2 separate regions of the Homo sapiens genome follow, and region 1 is linked to region 2. Evidence: promoter capture Hi-C in human tissues and cell types (Jung and others, 2019). All regions are on one chromosome and are shown on one strand. The core of a region is centred on a gene start or on the middle of the fragment in contact, and the rest is flanking DNA. Distances in the headings are between cores, read along the strand shown. Region 1 has its middle 63 kb from the start of ZBTB43. Region 2 holds the start of ZBTB43 (zinc finger and BTB domain containing 43).

The links. The method cuts DNA at HindIII sites, captures the fragments that hold promoters and counts their contacts. A contact is called where the count stands out against the background at its distance.
Region 1: a fragment that was not itself captured here is called in contact with the fragment with the promoter of ZBTB43 in region 2 in 2 of the 25 tissues and cell types used here (IMR-90 fibroblasts and mesendoderm cells).

The regions. Positions count from the first base shown.
Region 1 is chr9:126,740,011-126,744,089 of GRCh38, reverse strand. No RefSeq gene overlaps it. Among named protein-coding and RNA genes, the nearest start is that of ZBTB43, 63 kb to the left of the region's middle. The HindIII fragment of the contact is 3,481 bases long and covers 728-4,079 here.
Region 2 is chr9:126,803,709-126,807,501 of GRCh38, reverse strand. It overlaps ZBTB43 (zinc finger and BTB domain containing 43), which reads right to left and starts at 2,462. Exons shown (of 3, transcript NM_014007.4): 1 at 2,370-2,462. RefSeq lists enhancers at 1,288-1,437, 1,588-1,697, 2,108-2,167, 2,235-2,736 and a silencer at 2,798-2,847. The HindIII fragment of the contact is 16,594 bases long and covers 1-3,793 here.

The DNA.
Region 1 (4,079 bases), core at 1,219-3,718, 63 kb after region 2:
CAGCAGGATCTCTTAAGCCTAGGAGTTCGAGGCTGCAGTGAGCTATGAGCATGCCACTGTACTCTAGCCTGGGCAACAGAGTGAAACTCTGTCTCTAAAACCAACCAACCAACAAACAAAAATTCTAGCAAAGTCCTCGATTTTACACAATACCAGTTGAGGGCTGTAAACCAACTCCCTTTCCTTGATTCTCAGGGGAGGGCCACAGGCCATAATGTGACATATGTCCCTTGGGCATAGCTGATTAAACAAGTAGTGGACACAGGACCCAAGCTGAGACCATCAGATTCTCTCTCCATGCCATTTGGAGAATGCTTTGACAGAGCAATCTAGTCTCAATCGGCATCTGAAATAATAACTTGCAAGTTTATGAGCTCTAAAGCCATTATATTCCCTGTACTGCAATGTTCTAGTGCCAGCTTGGTTAAGCTATGAACTACCGCTCCCAGAATCTCCTTCCAGGGGACACTTGACCAAGACAGGAGGTGGCTGGAAGAAGTGCAGGAGTTGCCATGGTTCCCTGATTGTCACTGTGGTCGAGTATGGTAACAGACAGATGCTGAGGTGCAGGGTGGGTCCCAACCTGTCTTCCTTGTTCTCAGTTCCACAACCGGCTCTTCTTGTTCACCAGGAGCAGCTCCATGTCCCCTACAAGATGCTTAACTGTGGAGTCACAGAGGAAGAGCTACCAAGAGGCAACAGCATCCCATGGACCTCCCTACAATGACCCCTTTGCAATCCCATTTTTAGTGGCTCGATTTGTTTGGTTTCGATTCCAACCGAGCCTCCGATGCATCAGGAGGAGGATGACTTAGTGACTTTGCCTGTGATCCTCCAATTCCCCCCATGACCTTCACTTCCCTAGCTCTACCCACATTGTTCAGGCCTAATCTCTGTAATAAATCTGTATCCTGTAACACTCACAGTGGCTTTGCTTCCCTAACCAAACCCTGACTGATGCAGTTATTGATACTAATGATGCTTTCCAGGGAAGAGAATGTTAAGGATGGGAATGTGGTTTGGTTCTCCCATCCGAGTAGATATAGAGGCATTAAGGATACTGCTTTTAGGAGTAAAGGGGATGCCGGTGGTTGATGGCACGTGCTGGAGAAGAGCTATTAAATTATCATCTTTAGACTCTTGGCATCAAGGCCTACAGAAGGCATGACTTTTCTTGACCAAGTAACTACTGCCATAGAACATTTTGGTGGAAATAAATGGTACAAGGATTCAGGGGTTGGTTGGTTGCTTCTTTACTTTTTTTTTTTTTTAAAGATGGAGTCTCACTCTGTCACCAGACTGGAGTGCAGTGGCGGAATCTTGGCTCACTGCAACCTCTGCCTCCTGGGTTCAAGTGGTTCTTCTGCCTCAGCCTCCTGAGTAGCTGGGACTACAGGCGCATGTCACCATGCCTGGCTAATTTTTTGTATTTTTAGTACAGACGGGGTTTCATCGTGTTAGCCAGGATGGTCTCAATCTCCTGACCTCATGATCCGCCCGCCTCAGCCTCCCCAAGTGTTGGGATTACAGGTGTGAGCCACCACGCCCGGACAATTTTTTGTATTTTTTAGTAGAGACAGGGTTTCACCGTGTTAGCCAGGATGGTCTCAGTCTCCTGACCTCATGATCTGCCTGCCTCAGCCTCCCAAAGTGCTAGGATTACAGGTGTGAGCCACTGCGCCCAACAGGTTGGTTGCTTCTAAGTGCACTGGAAAATTTGGAGAGGATGATGATGAGTGCAGGACTTTAAATTCTCAGATGAAGAAATGGGTAAACAATCAAGAAGCACTTCCATATGCTCTGAAAAGAAAAAACTTCACCTCCTGGAGCTGCAGGTTGATTTCTAAAAACCAAACTCTAAATCTAATCCCTTGGGTAGCTAAATTATGATGCTGATTGAATTTACAACCTTGGAAGGTCTCATGTTAAAGTTAGAGGTCATTGATTGAGAAGGAGTGGGACCCTAAAATTTGGAGTGGGGGTATCTGGGAAGATTCCGATGAAGATAAGAACCTTGAACTCCCAATCCCACCAAGCTTTTTGTCAGTGGAAGCATCCCTTCCTCTCCCTCTGGGGAGTTTACTCACCACTTGCCTGGAAAATCTCTAATGGCCTCTCCTGAGGTGATATTCCTACAGGGGAATGGCCATCTTCCTCAGGACCTACACCACCCCCACCCCGCATACACACCCATTGCTTCTAGAACTATAACCAGACTCAAACCCAGTAAGCTTCATGGGATCAAGCACAAAGTGTGACTCATGAGGAGGCATTGTACATACAGAAAAGAATTATAAGGTGTCTCCAACTTGTATCAACATGGGAATGGACCCTAACTGTCAGATTTTGGTGGGAGCAATATAATGTAGAATCTGGCTGAATTTATTGATATTAATAGGTAAGTGAAGACTCTAGATTTATTGCAGTAGTTTGAGTGGCTGAGAGGGACTCTAACAGTTGCTCCGTTGGTTGATTGAAACCTGGATCCATATATGGACCATACTGAATAAGGATGAAATTTCATGACTTTCTTGATATACTATAGACGGAGATATCCAAAACTTAGGGACAGAAAGCTGGAAGAGATTCATTGTTTATGTCCTACTCACCCACCCCCTCTCCATGTCTCCCAGGAGGGCCCTAAGTTTATGCTTATCAAGGCTTTAGGAGATAATTAGCTCACCAATAATTAGTTTTAGGAAATAATATGCTCACCAAGGGTTTTAGAAATAAGGCCGGGTGCAGTGGCTCACTCCTGTAATCCCAGCACTTTGGGAGGCTGAGGCAGGAGAACTGCTTAAAGCCAGGAGTTTGAGACCAGCCTGGGTAACATAGTGAAACCCCATCTCTACAAAAAAACTGAACTGGCCATGGTGGCACATGCCTGTAGTCCCAGCTACTCAGGAGGCTGAGGCAGGAAGATCACTTGAGCCCAGGAATTCAAGGCTGCAATGAGCTTGATGATCAAGTGACAAAATGAGATCTTGTCTCAGAAAAAGAAGAAAAGAAAAGAAAAGAAAAAGCAATGCATTGGTATTGATGAAGGGAGTCTCAGCAACTCCGAAGAGTCCCATAGTATCAGTTCTCTTCAAGAGAGGAATTACAGTGGGAAATGATGCCATGAGCCATGAAACTGAGCTCTCTGGATTCAATAGGGATGATGGGATCCTGGGGTAGCAGGGACCAAGTGGTAGCACTTAACAGAGACAAGGTGGGCATGATTCCCATAATGGACAGCGAAGCCAAAGCAGTATCCAGAATGGTCTGATCTGAAGAATGCTTTAGCATTGGTAGTTGATTATTAAAGTCTTGCTTGATTCGGATAAGCAAAAAAGCTCTAGGTCCAGTGAATGGAAGTCTGACTTGAATCAACACAAGGAATGCTACTGCCAAAAGTGTGCACTGCAACTTTTTCAATACATCATGACTCTTCCTCCTAGACCTTCCTAAGCTACCAGCAGCCATTTCCCAGGATGACTATACACTGGGGAGGGGGAAAGAACCAGAATTTTGGAGATCACTGCATGCTTGGGGACCCAAAATGACATCGTGGTTCACCAATGAAAGAAGGGGATTATGGCAATTGGGTGACTAATGGAGTTTTGGCTTGTGTCAACTTCACTGTGTGCCTGGTGGGCCCACAGACAACTCTGCCGTATCCACACCATCATATCCCATCAATCCCTCAGCAAGCAGAGGTGTTTTGTACTAGGTTGGGCTTGAGTGGATCTGAAAGGCACAAGTGACTCCTGGTTCTCCTACTTTGCCTCCTCCTTTTCAGTCTGTACCTGTGCAGTCATGAGAAGTTTCCCAGTGACCAGTTAACTGAGAAAGAAAACATTTGGACTGGAAAATAAATGGTTCTGCAAGACAGGCTGGAACAATCTATAGGTGGACCACTGTAGTACTAAACCACACTCTGGGGTGGTTCCGAAGAGCAGTGGGAATGGGAAGTCCTCCCAGTGGAGAGTTGAGCAGTGCACCTTATTGTTCATTTCTCCTGGAAGGAGAGCTGGCAAGAGGTATAGATCTGAGGTGATTAATAAAAATTAATTGCAGGAGATGGCTAATGGTTTGGT
Region 2 (3,793 bases), core at 1,213-3,712:
TGCCTGAGACAATGATAGAGAACTGCTGAGGTCCTCATCAATGTTCTTGATGACACAAAGGATGACACTCTAGAAAAAATATGGACACACTCTGAATTGAAAAGTGCACAGAAGAGTAGAACTTGGAATGTTAAGTTTAACGAACACTTTAACCAATGTGTTCTTATTTTTCCTTTGTATATATGCATTAGAATAGGCATTGATACCATGTTTTAGTGTCTAAGTCTAAAAGTGTTTTCAATAATAAAAAGTCTAAACGATAAGAGCGTATTAAGCCATAGTTCAATTAGCAGGGTTTCTCCCTTCCTTGGTGGTACATGAAATAACAGCATCTAGGATTCAATTAAATAAAGTAGTAATTCAGTTGTGATATCTTATTAGAAAGCTTGATAAACTACCTTAAAGGCAAATAGACAGCTTAAATAAGAGATTTTAAAAAACAAAAAAACCACAAAGGCATCCCCCATAACGAAACTCAAGAAATAACACATAATTTTGCATTATAATAAAAGGGCTATTTTTCAACCTTATGAGTTTTCTTCCTGTGAAAAGCATAATTATCAAGTATCCTACTTATGAGCACATTCTTGCACTGATTCCAAGAAAGGCAGAGGGAGGAGAGCCAGGGCAGAAAGTAAGTAGAAAGCCTGAGAAAGATTTTAACCAAATTCATTTAACTAAACTTTTCTAAGAACCTCAGCTGTACCCACTGCTGTAAAGAGAGTAGGAATCAATAAACACAGGTTCAACTGTGTTCCTAACAACTACAGAATGAATTTTGAAAAATTACATGTAAAAGGAGCTTATTGGTTTCAGGAGTCTCCAATGAATACTGTTTTTGTTTTTTGTATTGTATAAAATATACATAAAACTTTAAGACTTAACAATTTTAAGTAATTTTAAGAGTCCAATTCAGTGAAGTACATTCACAATGTTGTGCAATCATCACAACCCATTTCCAGACCTTATTCATCATCCCCCAAAACTCTGTTCTGTAACATTAAGCAATAACTCCTCTCCCCAGCCCCTGGTAAACTATTCTACTTTCCGTCTCTTAATTGGTTTATTCTAGGTACTTCATTTAAGTGCTCTCAAACAACATTTGTCCTTTTGTGTGTGGTTTATTTCTCCCGTGGTGCTTTTATAAAGCAAATAATAAATTCCCAATTATTAGGTTTCTTATAATTTAACTGAAAATGCTGACACAATCTCTGAACTAAGCATGCAGTTATCCCAGAAACCCTGCTACTGTTCCAGTAGCCCCAAAGACCTCAGTCTGATCCTTTCTTAGCCTGTAGACAGGCCTGTTAAACAGCTGTAACTCAAAGAGCAGGCTCCAGAGATCCCTGGAGACCATCCTGTGGTGAGTGGATAGAGCGAAGGCATTTGGGAAGCTGTGCAGGCCTGAGAAACCACAGGCGAGAAAAGGAGAGGACTCATCAAGCTGCTCTGGCCCTAAAATGGGCCTCCTGTCTCCCTGACAGGCTCTCCTGCACTCTGACACTTATGTTGGGCGACACCTGTCAGAGTTGAGGCCAAACTGCGGTCGAGTCACTGAGAGTGTCACCAGTGCAGGGAACTTCACGGGGTCATGAGTCACCTTCCATGGCTCAGAGGTCTGGGCAGCCCTGCCCCACCCAAACTCAGGAAAGAGAGACAAGAGGCAAAAACAAAGTTGGCAGAAAGAGAGAAACAGACAGATGGCCAAAAAGCCAGACTGACAGGCCCTGAATTAGAGTAAGGGCTGAGTGGCAGAGACAGGGTGAACAGACACAGAAGCAAGGTGGAGACAGATATAAAACAGGATCCAGATACCCCGACAAAGACAAAGTGGAGAGAAATATCAGGTTGACAGCGACCTAGCTGAAAGACAAAAAGGGCAGGTTACAACAGGTGACAGAGACAGCAACAGGGGATGCTGAATGTTTTACTTAAACAGAAGATCAGCTAAGTCCAGGCGCAGTCTTTCTCCCAGCTCGGCTCGTCAGGCCTCAGGCATTGGTGGCTCGAACCCGAGGTCGTCAAGCCGCGCCCACCCTACGCCCCGAAAGGCCAGCGGACGGACGGGGGCGGGATCTCTAAGCGCTGTGGCCGGCGGAGCTCCGCCGCCGCGAGGGTGACCTTGGGCGAGAAGCTGCCCCAAAGGCCTCGGTATCGCGGTCTGCGCGCCGTGTGGGCAGAAGACTGCGGGATTCGGAGCTGGAGCGCCGGGACCCCAACCTCCCGCGCGGGGCTTTGGTATGCCGGTCCACGGAATGGGCCTGGCGGGGCCAGCGGCGCGAGCGTCGGGGCCTGCTGAGGAGCCCTTAACTCCCCCACCGACTTCTCCTCCCCTACCCTTGCCGCCCGTGGTCCTGGCCACGCAGTACCTGCCAAGGGCTCAGCGCTCACATCCCCCGCCCAAGATATCCTCTCTGCCGCCGGCGCAGGCCTGTTGTAGCCTCAGCTGCCGCAACAGATTCAGCCTGTGCCTTCAGCCCCCGGAAACGCTTCCCGGTCCCGCCCCCCGAAACTGACAGTGCTTCCGGGGGTGCGTCAGAGAGAAAGCGGAGTGCGCATGCGGGACTTACCGTCTGAGCTGGGCGTCGGGAGAGAGCGCGGAGGTAGCGGGCGCCTGCGCAGTACACTCTGGAGCGGGTCAATTTTAGGGACTGACTACGCTGTTGAAAATAGGGGAGCAGATACTGAGTTCTAAACCTTCTTGAAACCTTGGCATAGGCCAGGCGCGGTAGCCCACGTCTGTAATCCCTGCACTTTGGGAGGCCGAGAGGGGATGATCGCTTGAGGCTAGGAGTTCGAGACCATCCTGGCCAACATGGTGAAACCCTGTCTCTACAAAACATACAAAAATTAGCTGAGCGTGGTTGCGCGCGCCTGTAATCCCAGCTACTTGGGAAGCTGAGACAGGAGAATTGCCTGAACCCGTGAGGCAGAGGTTGCAGTGAGCCGAGATCACGCCGCTGCACTCCAGCCTGAGCACAGAGCAAGACTCTTAAACAACAACAACAACAACAACAAAACAAACAAAAACACCTTGACCTTCTCCGTCTCTTCTCTAAACAAACGAACGAAAACCTTGACCTCAGTATGCCTGGCGGAGATTATCTCCAAATCCGTTTCTGCCTTCACAGCACCCATCTCGCTTTTTGGCATGTAGTAGATGCTCAGTAAATGGTCAATGAAAGGACCAGTGCCTTTCCGTGGGCTGCATTGTGCTGGGCACTGGGGTCACACAGATGGTGGGACAGAAACGATCTCTCTAGCCTCCAATTCTCCCACTCCCTCCCAAAACCTCCATACCTCTTCTCGCCCCTTTCTTCCCCACTGCCCCCCCATGTTAGTGTAGAAGAGAGATAGGTCTTTAGCGGTGGGACTCTTACCTTTGGACCCGTTTACAGACCAAGTGCCCTCTTTGTAGAAGAACTAATTTATACCTGAAATCCAGGCAGCTGAAGCGATGTGGTCATAATGCCTTCTGGATTTAGGGTGGATGTTCTCGTGGGGCCTGACATGCCTGTTTGATATTGTCTGTCTCAGTTTAAGCTGATTGGTTTCCCAGCTGTTATGCCTGTCTTGCTTGTTGTTGGGCCCTAGGACACAGGAGTGTAGCTTTCCTAGAGAATTCTACCAAAAAAATTTTTTTTTCTAGAAAACAAAATGAAAGAAAACAAATATGGAAGCACAGAAATGGGAGTGGATGCAGAACAGCTTGTCAAAGATTCTACTTCAAACATGTATGCTCCAGCTCCCCCGCCTTGTGGTTTTGTTTTGTTTTGTTTTGTTTTTTTTTGGA